3 separate regions of the Homo sapiens genome follow, and regions 2 and 3 are each linked to region 1. The links are contacts of gene promoters, found by promoter capture Hi-C in blood cells and fetal thymus (Javierre and others, 2016). All regions are on one chromosome and are shown on one strand. Each heading gives the region's core, a stretch centred on a gene start or on the middle of the fragment in contact. The rest is flanking DNA. Distances are from core to core; before and after follow the strand shown.

Region 1 (4,242 bases), core at 1,428-3,927:
TGGTTTTATAAGGCACTTCCCCCTTCGCTGGGCACTCATTCTCTCTCCTGCCACCCTGTGAAGAGGTGCCTTCTGCCATGACTGTAAGTTTCCTGAGGCCTCCCCAGCCATGTGGAACTGTGAGTCAATTAAACCTCTTTCCTTTATAAATTACCAAGTCTTGGGTATGTCTTTATTAGCAGCGTGAGAACAGACTAATATGATTATTGTCTGCTTAACTTGGTGAGGGGCAGGCCCCACAATGACGGTAACACAGATCTTCAGTGAGGGTCTTCCCAGCCCATCCCTTTCGAATAACTGGGCTTGACACATATTTGGTTGAATACAGGGTTCCTGTCTAACTGCAGACACAGGTGTGCACACACTCCAATAGAGCGTTCCCTGTCTAACTACAGATACACACGAGTATACACCCCAATAGAGGGTTCCTGTCCAACTGTAGATACGGATGCGTGCACACCCCAACAGAGGGTTCCTGTCCAACTGCAGACACAGATGCATGCACACCCCAACAGAGGGTTCCTCTCCTACTGCAGACTCAGATGCATGCACACCCCAACAGAGGGTTGCTGTCCTACTGCAGACAGAGATGTGTGCACACACCAACAGAGGGTTCCTCTCCTACTGCAGACACAGATGCATGCACATCTGATAGAGGGTTCCTCTCCTACTGCAGACACAGATGTGTGCACACCTCAATAGGGGGTTTCTGTCCAACTGCAGACACAGATGTGCACACACTCCGATGGGGGGGGGTTCTTGTCTAACTGCAGACATAGACGACTGCAAACCCCAATGAGGGGTTCCTGTCCAACTGCAGACACAGATGTGCACACACCCTGTGGGGGGGTTCCTGTCTAACTGCAGACATAGATGACTGCACAACCCAGTGAGGGGTTCCTGTCCAACTGCAGACACAGATGTGCACACACCCTGTGGGGGGGTTCCTGTCTAACTGCAGACATAGATGACTGCACAACCCAGTGAGGGGTTCCTGTCCAACTGCAGACACAGATGTGCGCACACCCCGATAGGAAGTGGCTCTGTGGTTGCCAACTTGCCAGGCCCAGCAGGGGCCACAGGAGTTGCAGAGGCACTTCAGGGAGCTCCGTCAAAAGCAGATGAGCACGATTCACCTGTTCAGAACAGGCGGTTCACTATGTTCTAGCTGCATGATCCCTCAGTTAAAATCTTACCGTGAAGTTCCGTGCAAGAAACCTAAAAGTTCCAGCTCTTATGGGGTAGGGGGCCAAAGCCCCAGCATCTTCCCCACAACAGGTCCTCTTATGACCCCTCCCCCAGCCCGAGGCACTGCTGGGGACCCCAGGAAACTACAGGACATCCCCCATTAGCTCAACTCCAGCTTCTCGTTGCTGGGTGGGGACACAGAGTCTTGGGGAAGATTTTGCCACAAACATAGATGTGGGCGTTTACGTAAACACAGAACTCTATCCCGAAGCAGACAAGAGACTCCCAGATTCCCAGGGGACTTGAACCAGGATATTACTAGCAAGTCATACTCCATTCCAGGTAGCAATGATACATTAGCTATGCAGAAAGTCATCGTTCTTCAACAAACCACTCTCATTTTAATTGCCACATTTTCATTATCCACATTAATCATTAAAATGAAAGTACCATCTCAACTCCTGTCGCCATGAACTCAACTAAAACAGGTAGACAAAATGGGGGAAAGGGAAAAGAAAAGGAAATAGAGAAGCATAGAGATGGTGACGTCTGAACACAAGACAGGAGCTGCTCCTTGGAAACCGGCTTCCTGGCGCTCTTCCCTCAGCGCTCCCTCCCGGGAAGGATGTGCTGAACCATAAACTTATTTCTCACAGCAACGTCTATCAGGGATGTTTCCTTCACAGGCCCAGTGAAAGGGCTGGCCCTTGACACCTCACAGACACCTGGCCTAAGCAGAGTGAGGCGGTCCAGGGACTTTCCATACACAGGCTGTGTCCTGAGGCTCTGCTCACCCCATACCCCTGCTCACCCCCACGGCCCTGCTCACCCCCACGGCTCTGCTCACCCTCACAGCCCTGCTCACCCCCACGGCTCTGCTCACCCTCACGGCCCTGCTCACCCCCACAGCCTTGCTCACCCCCACGGCCACCCAGGGCCCTGCTCACCCCCATGGCTCTGCTCACCCCCACAGCCCTGCTCACCCCTATGGCCACCCAGGGCCCTCCTCACCCCCATGGCTCTGTTTACTCCCAAGGCCATCCAGGGCCCTGCTCACCCCCACGGCCACCCAGGGCCCTGCTCACCCCCACGGCCACCCGGAGCCCTGCTCACCCCCACAGCTCTGTTTACCCCCACGGCCACCCAGGGCCCTGCTCACCCCCACGGCCAGCCGCAGTTGCTCCCGGCTGGGCAGCAGCACGAGGACATCCCTGTGTTCCGAGGCCATCGCGTCCATTCCCAGGGTCGGCTCCTGCTGACTGCATGCAGGCCTCTCAGGACTGGGTTCCATACATCGCGCCCCTGAAGGAGGGAACGTGTCAGGGTTTGTCCGGGCGGGGTCTATGCCCCTCCCTCTCGGGGGCACCGCCATGCTGTCGTTACTCGGCCCTCCCCCGCCATGGGTCGCAGGTGGGTGCTCAGCACCTCCCAGATCACAGCTGTGCTTTCCGGGACCCGCCCTTGCCGAGCTTCTCACTGGGAAGGGAATTGAGAGGGAAGCCTGGGCTGGGAATCCAGCATGGCCAAGCCAGGACAAGGGTCAGAGCTGCAAATAGCTGGGTGTGTGGAGGGCGCCAGGAATGCAAATAAACAACCTCAGGCTGGGCACCCGCCATGCAGCACTCCCATGCAGGGTAGCTCAGCAGCCAGCCTCGGTGTGGGCCCCGTGAGAACCAGGCTGGGGGAGACAGGACCCAACTCCTCCACCTGACAACCCCTATCTCCTCAGGGTGCCTGCTCCTTCTTCTATAATGTGGAGAGGGCTATGCAAACCCCATGGGCACAGATGCCAGAGCCAGGGCTGCTGGGGAAGATGGAGCAGCAGCAGGGCAGGACGAGGAGGGCGGGAGGAAGGCAGCCTGGGTGGGCACCCTGCCCCACACACCTCCTGTGGCATCTGTTATCGACCTCAGGAAGCAGCACAGCTGCCGTTCCTGGACAGGTTCTGCCAGGAGGGACCCTGGCTCCCTTTAGGGGCTGGAAACTGAGGACACTTCCTTCCTTGTCCAGGGCCAGCAAATCCCTTCCTGCCTGCAGCAGCTGGAAGGCCAGGAAGGGGGTCCTGGCTTGCGTGGACAGCAGCCGGGTGCATCAGCACGAGGGGTGGGGACATCTCCCGCAGGGCCTGGAACCCCTGAGGCCGCTCAGCAGAGATGAGCAACGCCTTCGAGCTCTTTGGCACAGTGTTAGGTGGGGAAGGGACCCCAGGATCCTGCCTGGCCCTGGGACCACCCAGACCTTTGGGCGCTGCAGGTCAGGAGAGGCAGTTCCCACGGGCCTGGGCTGTGGAATTCTGTCCTCAGCCGTGAGCTCCATCAGTTTCCTGCCATGGAGTCTGGGATGCTCTGGGACCTTCCTCTAGTAAGGGGTCTGGACCTCCGGACGGGCCGTTGTTCATCTTAGGAAATTCGCACTCCAGCCGCCTTAAGGCCTGGCCCGGTGGGTTTAGGAAATTCGCACTCCAGCCGCCCTAAGGCCCGGCCCGGTGGGTTGAGAAGATTTAGGAGGCTTAGGCCTCACCTCCCCCGGACCCTGGACTGACACTGGCTCCCTCCCTCCCTCCCTCCGCTCAGATCCAGACCCTTCCCAGACCCTCGAGGCCACACATGTGTGCCCAAGACAGCAGTGGCGGTCTCTTTTCTCTCCACAGCAAACGTAGAGCTGTTCACTATGGAAGATGTGGGGATCCCTTTAGCTGAGAGCACAAAAAGTTTTAAAAATGGCAAAAAAACCACAAAAAAAAACAGCCCCAGAGAGCAGAGGCTGGATCCTCATGGCCCTGTGCCACTGGCGCCTGAGCAGCTCGTCCCTGTGCCGGGTGCCCTCAGCCGCTGCCTGGAGTCACAGTGCCGGCGTATCAGGAAGGGCGGCAGCAGCTGCACCTCTCAGGATGCCTGGGCGCAGGACAGTGGCAGAGGGCAGGCAGGGGCCAGGGTTGGGGGGTGGCAGAACACCACCGGCACACACAGCACAGAGGGGACAACAGGCACCAGGACCCCTCGGTGGGGAGAGCCGGGGACACGGTGGGGAGTTGTGCTGGGTGCACTAATGATC
Region 2 (3,929 bases), core at 1,202-3,701, 610 kb before region 1:
TGCAAAAAAAAAAAAATGTACATAAATAAACAAGGTACCAAGCTAACAAGTGAGTAACCAGCAAACATGGAATAGTTGTGAGCAAATATGGGCTTATTCACAATGGGCCATACTCTGTCAGATCTAAACCTTCACCAGTTATATAACTCACCACTGCTTTTTGTGCCACAAGGAAAAAAAAGTGTTGCCAACTAAACCATTGCACAGTGAATTCTTATCACTGAGAATTGTAAATGTATTAATAGAGTTCTTGGCTGGGTGCCATGGTTCATGCCTATAATCCCTTTAGGAGGCTGAGGCAGGAGGACGACTTGAGCCTAGGAGTTTGAGATCAGCCTGGGCAATATGGTGAAACCCCATGTCTACAGAAAACGAAAAATAAAATAAAATAATTAGATAGGCATGGTGGTGCATGCCTGTAGTACCAACTACTTGGGAGGCTGAGTGGGGAGGATCACTGGAGCTCAGGAGGTTGAGGCTGCAGTGAACCAGGATTTTGCCACTGCACTCCAGTCTGGACAGTAGAGCAAGACTCTGTCTCAAACATAAATAAATAAATAAATAAATGGGTTCTTTTATTTAGTCATGTTTTCGTATCCTATATCTCTTGTGCATAAAAATGAAAAGGAACACATAAGCAGTATGAAGAGCTAAGATGTTTTTAAAACTTTTTTGAATGCAGCATCCGCTGCTCCTAAGTCATGTCCCGGCTCACTCAGCCTCACTCACGCCTTCCCACGCGGTATCAGCCTCTGAGCAGCCAAGAGCCAGTTGGCTCCACTGTTGCCCCTGGACTTTTTCAAGCTGCCAACACCCATTCTGTATATTTGGATGCTGATCCTTTGTAAGCTTAACAGAAGGTGTAATAGAGGGTTCCAGAAAGCAATCAAAATCACCTCAACCTCAAATGGTCTGAGTTACTGGGTAGTTGAAAGCCAAAGATTGGGATGTCCAGCTGTGGCACTAGGCGACAAGTCTAGATGACAAGTCGCTGGGCTGTGCATTGAGCTTGTTCTGAATTTCACTCTTACAAACATTCTCACACATGCGGGCAAAAGTCGATCATGATTTCAGATCAACCACAATTACAATCAATTACCAGACACATCCTTATACTAAAGATGTTAAAATGTGAAGAAGAAGGGGAAAAAAAGTACAACTAGTGTTTGATGAATAACCTGGAATGATCAATGGTGATCATTGGTCAACTATTTGCTAGCTGTTGTCTTCTGTGAAAGTATCAGCAAAGGCCAGACCTCTGTTAGGAAATGCAGGCATCATCTAATCTTTGTGAAAGGCAGCTATACAGTTGTCTTTAGTGAGAGGCAGTAACACTTAAAGCAATTTCTGAATGAAATAAGAAATAATAACCATTTAAACGACAGAGCAGAAGCAAGCCATGCTGCGTGAATGTTTCAGAATATTTTTAAAGTCATTAATCAATATGCCTTTTGGGCATGGAATGGTAGTGAGAATGAGATCCAGACTCTGGCTCCAGTCTTATGCTGTGTGGCCTCTTGCAAGCTCCTTCATCTTTCTGGATGCAGTTTTCTTCTGTGTAACATAAGACTCTCAGGTTTATTCCAGATGCAACATTCTACTTTTGATTTTTCAGAAAAAGACCTCATAGCCATTTGCAGTCTGGCCCCTTGCTCAATAGGTCACTTGAAGCTCTTTCTTAAAAGTATGCACCAAAGTATAATAATAAATAAATAAATAAATAAATAAATAAATAGTTACTGAAAAATAAAATAAAATAAAATATTCTAAAAAAAAAAAAGTACGCACCAAACACTTTCTACGCAGGAGGATAATTTCTAATTCAATAGCAGCATCCAGGCCCTCTTCCATGTGGCCTGCTTTGCAATGCAGGGGCACACTTTGAGATAATATTAGGGTATTTCAAAGAACTTTAGAGTGCCTCAAGTTCCACCTTCTTTACAGAACTAGAACTTTGCTTCAATACCCAATCCTTTGTTAAATACTCCTCTGAGAACGTGTTTATGTCTCAGCAACGCAGCCAGTTCAATCAATCACTCAAATGGCTGGACAATTCTTTCCTGCCCAGTTGTCACAAACAATTGGAATAGAACAGGACGTCCAGACATGGACCCAGTAAGAGAGGACAGTGCCCAGCACACACAGCAGAAGGCTCACACTGAGCACCTAAAGACCATTGAAACACACATCGCCTGGTGGAAAATACACAAAGAACATCAACAGATTGTTTAATAAAAAGAAAATGTCATCGGCTCTCAACCATACAGAGGCATACTCAAGCTGATACAAAATAAGAAAAATACAAAATTAAACTCAGTAAAGGTGTATTTTCAACTCTCAATTAGGCAACGATCAAAAAAGCTTAACAACAGCTGCTGACCAGGCCTAGAGGAAACAGGCGTCCGTATACATTGTTGGTGGGAATATAAATTGATAGAGTTTACAGGAAGGGGAATTTGACAATATCTACCAAAATACAAAAGCACGTAACTTGTACCTACCAATTCTACTTCTAAAATTATAAATCACAGAAGCAATTCTCAAGCTTTTTGGTTTTGGCACCACTTTATACTCCAAATCTTACTGAGGCCCCAAAGACTTTTGTTTACATGGGTTACATAGACTGACATTTACATTAAAAATTATAAGTGATGAACTTAAAAGAGATGTATTATATCATAAAATAATAATAATCCCATTGCATAACAATATAAAACACATTTTCATTAAAAGTGGTTATATTTTCCAAAAATATTAGTGAAAACAGGGCATTGTTTCACATTTTTACAAATTGGCCTGGGAGAAGACAACCAGATTCCCAGCTCCACTTCTGCACTCGGCCCTAGTGAGGTGTGGTTTTGGTTGATGTCCCTGGAGGAAATCTGCCTGACTTGGGAATGAAGCTGCAAAAGAAAGCTACTTGCAGGAGAGGTGCGGGACTCGTTTTGGGAAGCTGAGTCTGACAGACAGCCACAGGCATGTGAAACCATGGTATCATTCCCTGAGGTGTTGCTTGTTAACAGCAGAGGACTGGCAACAATCCAAGGGTCCCTCGAAAGGGGGATGATTAAATAAACTACAGCCCATTTGTAAGAATGGAATTCTATGCAACTATTAAAATGAATGATGTAGTGTATTAAGTACCGTTATGTGGAAATGAAAGATTTATCGATAAGCATAAAGTAAAAAATAATCTGCCGAGCCTATTTATATAAATATATAGTTTATATAAATATATAGTGTATATAAAATACATCTGGAAGGAAACGCAGTAAAGCATTATTGATAGTTACTTTCCCAGAAGGGATGGGGGCCTTCACATTAGGGCATCGGCAGGCTCACTTTTCATTTTACATCTTTTGTAGCTTTTGAATTTTCTACCATGTGTATATGTTATCAAGCCAAAATTAATTAATCAATCACTGTAAATACAAATTTATAACCTATTCTGAAGACAAAATGAATTAATGCATGACAAAATGCCTGGCCCTTTGTAGATATTCAATAAATGTTAGCTGTTCTAGTTAATAATTTTATTATTATTATTAAATCATAGAATAACTCTAGTTTGGGTTATGTTTAGTCTCCAGTCTTCCACTACCTGGGTCACCCTTATAAGTGCTACAACCCCTGACGGTCTCTCCTGAAAGTAGTTCCAGGTCTGGTCTGAACGCCACAGCACAATAGAACAGCCTCAGAAACCAGTTTAGGTTTTATTTTTGGGCGTTAAATATTTCCTGTAACCATATTTTGTTAGTCTAGTCATTATCGAAACAGTACCTTTGCCTTCCCCTATGGGTTCGATTAATTTCCCTTAGAGAAACCCTTCCAACACCTGGAGTCTTCACGCCTCCCCGTGTGCTTGGATCGGGAGCACAGAGTGAAGCTCTGATGCTCCCCGTGCTCCCTCATTCTACGTGTGCTCATTT
Region 3 (4,077 bases), core at 1,366-3,865, 640 kb before region 1:
GTCCTGAATAATCAGGAACCTAGAAGTCTTTTTAAAGCCCCACAGATAATTCTGATGGACAGCAAGGGTTTTAAGAAGGACTGGCCTAGAAAACTGTCAACACCCAATCAGAAAGCAGGATGACCTGCTGTAAAGAACAAGGTAGGCCAGGCACAGTGGCTCACGCCTGTAATCCCAGCACTTTGGGAGGCCAAGGCAGGTGGATCGCTTGAGGTCAGGAGTTTGAGACCAACCTGGCTAACATGGAGAAACCCTGTCTCTACTAAAAATACAAAAATTAGCTGGGCATGGTGGCTCATGCCTGTAATCCCAGATACTTGGGAAGCTGAGGCAGGAGAAGTGCTTGAACCTGGGAGGCAGAGGTTGCAGTGAGCTGAGACAGCACCACTGCACTCCAGCCTGGGCAAAAGAACAAGACTCCACCTAAAAAAAAAAAAAAAAAAAAAAAAAAAACCGAAGAAAAACACAAAGTTGCCTCCTACTGAATTATAAGAATTAAAAACGAAAACAACTCTGCTTTTACCTGACGTTGTAATTAGCACAGAATTCCAAAAACGGCCTTTTCTTCCCGCCTTTTCTTCTGTTTGCCTCCAGAACAGGGTGCCTGCTCGCTCATCACACAGGTTGGATAAGATCGACAGGAAAAACCCCTCCAACAGCACAGCAGAGCAGCACAGAGCCCTGCCTCTCTCCAGCTGGGGAAGTCGGGAGCTGAAGTGGAAAGCTGGTTGAAGAACAATGTGAAAAAAATGAGGCCTGACTCAATTCCTAAAAGCGGCTGCCTGACCTTATGCAAGCCACAGCTTCTATTTACAAACCCAGGAAACTGGACAAAATACTGAAAGGATCCCCTAAGATAATGAGAGTTAACAACAGATGCAAAGCAAGGTTCTGTGGAAATGTAAGGTCGTGTTACCACGCAGGGCTGAAAAGCTTTCCTGACTACTTTCTGATTTGCGTATACTAAGGACTATTTCAAGAGGGTGACATTTTATGAATTAAAGGCATGCCACTTCCATTCACAGTGCTGTTCTGAGAGATTCGATTCTGTCCTTGACAATCTAAGAAAATCTTAACTCTGCATTATGTAAATACTAAGGACACGGGGTGTTTCGAATGAGACCAACCTCGTATCTCTCTCAACTCCCTCTCCTCCCGGGGCCACCCTTTTCTTTAATTGAAAGCACAATAAACTTAATCAGCTGCTCCTAACGATGCCTGCCCCAGCCTGGGAGATTCAGCAAGGCTTGGGGCGTGCATGACAAAGAAACACACACTCCAGAATCTCACTTTTGTTATTCCCCAGCCATCTTTTGTTATGTGGCATGGGAAAAATCTTAATGAGCCTGCCCTGCTGCTGCAGAAATTCTTGTCAGATGAAAAGCAGCCCCTCCTTCCACCTGGCAAGGGCTTACAGAGAACACAGCAGCCCACATCTACTCACGTTTCCTGAAACAATCCCCTATTTAACTTCCTAGGCAACAGAAAATCTGAAGAAAATGAGATACCACAGAAGATGAATTTGATGTAACAAAAAGGTGTTTTAAAAAGATAAGTAGAGAGGCCATCCTACAAAATTTCATGGCTGACAATGGTAAAAAAGATGCAGAAAAGGACCATCTGGCCTGAAAAATTCAGCCGGGGTCGGGGGAGGGGGTCCCGCAGCAGAGGCCAGGCCTTCAAGGATGGGGATCCTCTTCTGTCTTCCTTTTCTCAAAATGTTTGTTGGATGATGGACTTAATTTTAAAACCCCAAGTCACTGCGGTTTAGCCAGCTATGGATGATGAAAGCACTACAATCATTGAAACTGACAAGGAGGCAGTTTCCTTCAAAAATACGAAAACTGTACGCAGAGTACATGGAGAAAAATGTGACACAAGCATTTGGACACACTACTAAACAACAACATGGGACAATATAGACAACAATTGGAAATACACTTTGAGGAGGTAAAAAGTTCAGTATTCACTGGCTTCCTTTTGGAGGTTGTTAAATTGCTGAAATTCAAATAAAAGTCATTGAGCCATTGTGTCTGTCAGCTGTGCCTCTATCTCACCCCCGGGTGGGTGGAGGTCCCCCTGGCTTTATTCTCTGTGTTGTTGCTGCAGATCCAGATTCAGGATTCCGCCCTGAAGGTCTGCGTTCCCTCCCGAGACAGCCTCTGTTTCAAAATGCACAGCCATTCTTGACAGACAAGAAAGGGATGTTGAAAAACAAGTCATGCTTTGGATTCGTGTGGCTTTGAGATACAGAACGAATGAATTATTTCCTGCCTGGCCCAGAACACTTTGCCTCGGTACAGGAGTGTCAAGGCAGAGTGGGTGGGGAAGATGAAGGGTGAGGGAAGCAATTGCAATTAAAATCCATAAGGAGCCGGAGAAGGTGGTGCTCATAGATGGATCCCCTAACTGAGTTTAGAGGGCACAGGAGGAGGCGAAGGGAAGCAGTCTTTCATATATGTGACTTAGGAAATATATAAGGATTGTGTATTTTACGGCACTTATGAGATGGGATAATTCCTTGACTCTTTCATGGGTAGGAACTGGAGTGCACCTCTGGGTCCAGTTGGCCACTTCAGCACTAGCAGGGACGAACTTCAATCACTTGAACCTGCTGGACTCAACCCCTCATGGGAGGGAGCACATAGGCGAGTGGGTGCTGGGACCCTGGCAAGGGCTTTTGGGCTCCAGACCCACAGCAGCATCTAGGGTTGCATTACAATTAATGCTCTTTTAGCTTTGCCGTCCACAGATGGCTTAAGTGTTAAACAGCTCAGTGAAGAGTCAGTGTGACAGCCTTTATGGGTTCCCACATCCAGTGCATGCTGAATTCTTGTCCAGCGTCCAGGAAGAATCGGGCCACACAAATGGTTTGAAAGGTGATGAATGCAGAGGATTTTATTAAGTGGTGGAAGTGGCTCTCAGCAGAAGGGGAGCTGGAAGTGGGATGGAGCAGGGAGAAGGTTATCTTTCCCTGAAGCCCGGCCATCTGCAGCCAGGCTCCTCTCTGAAGCTGTGCCGTCTGAAGTTAAGCCACATCTATCCATAGTCTCTGATGCTCAGCTGCTTCTTCTCTCAACGTTCAGCCACTTGTCTCTTTGCCAGCTGAGGCCTGGGGTTTATATAGGCACAGGATAGGGGGTGGGGTGGGCCAAAAGGTAACATTTGGGCAAGAAAACAGGGATAACTGTTCTCATTTAGGGCTATGGTTTCCAGGCTTGAGGGTGGTGACTTGCCAGGGAACTGCCCTCTTCTGCCCAGTATTTCCCTGCCTCCTGTCCATATCAATTTGATATTTTTTGTGACACAGGTAGATAATTATCATAATCTGAAAAATAGCTTTCCATTGCAGGGGAAAGGGTTTGAGGTTCTGTCAACAACCCATGGACCTCTGGTCTATAGAATGAACAAAGAAATAATGTCATATAGATAAGCTACCTTGAGCCTTCTGGCAATTTCAGACTGTTTATAAATGTCTTGCTAAACTGTGAGGCCTACAAGGACGTAGGCTATGCCCGTCTTGCCTGCCATTACTTACCCAGCCTGGCACACAGCAAACACTCCGGTAATAGTGGTCACGCCAAAAAGTTATGACCACTTGGTGTCACTCAGCTTCCAGACTTTGTTACCTTACCAAGCCCGCTCCCACCTTCTGCTAACCTCCTGACCTTCGGAAGAAACCACCAATTCTGCAGTGGGCTCTGCACGCTCCCCAACTCTCAGCAGCAGTGTTGGTTAAACGAGTGAACATTCTGGTCTCTTCTATGAGCAGACCCAGGGGGTCAGCTGAGTCTCAAGTGTACACAAGGAGAAAGACATCCATGGGATAGCAGGGAGTTAGTGACACCAGCGCCCACAGGGCATCATGAACTCCACCTGGAGTCAACTCAGTGCTCTGCTGTCAAACTCCCCACAAGAAATGACAAGTTTGTGTCCTACAGCATCAATGCAAGGAGCCTGGCACCTACCAGGCAATTTCCAGCTGTCACTCATAGCTCAGCTCCTTGTAAATCTACTGCTAATGAGTTTATCTTGATTCTTCATGGACCTATTTAAGAATTCAGCTCTTCAATTTCA

Evidence for each region. Contacts are between HindIII fragments. The CHiCAGO score rates a contact against its expected background, and 5 or more counts as called.
Region 2: a contact is called between a fragment that was not itself captured here and the fragment with the promoter of FRMD1 in region 1, in 2 of 17 cell types (M0 macrophages and M1 macrophages). The highest score is 6.5, in M0 macrophages.
Region 3: a contact is called between a fragment that was not itself captured here and the fragment with the promoter of FRMD1 in region 1, in 1 of 17 cell types (monocytes). The highest score is 5.1, in monocytes.

What each region holds. Positions count from the first base shown.
Region 1 is chr6:168,076,535-168,080,776 of GRCh38, forward strand. FRMD1 (FERM domain containing 1) reads right to left here and starts at 2,678. Exons shown (of 11, transcript NM_024919.6): 1 at 2,348-2,678. The coding sequence starts at 2,560. RefSeq lists an enhancer at 1,669-2,390. The HindIII fragment of the contact is 11,905 bases long and covers 1-4,242 here.
Region 2 is chr6:167,463,597-167,467,525 of GRCh38, forward strand. All of the region lies in intron 1 of LOC105378127 (a long non-coding RNA gene), which reads right to left. Among named protein-coding and RNA genes, the nearest start is that of TTLL2, 140 kb to the left of the region's middle. The HindIII fragment of the contact is 184 bases long and covers 2,360-2,543 here.
Region 3 is chr6:167,441,187-167,445,263 of GRCh38, forward strand. No RefSeq gene overlaps it. Among named protein-coding and RNA genes, the nearest start is that of TTLL2, 120 kb to the left of the region's middle. RefSeq lists enhancers at 609-1,477, 1,478-2,347. The HindIII fragment of the contact is 3,369 bases long and covers 932-4,077 here.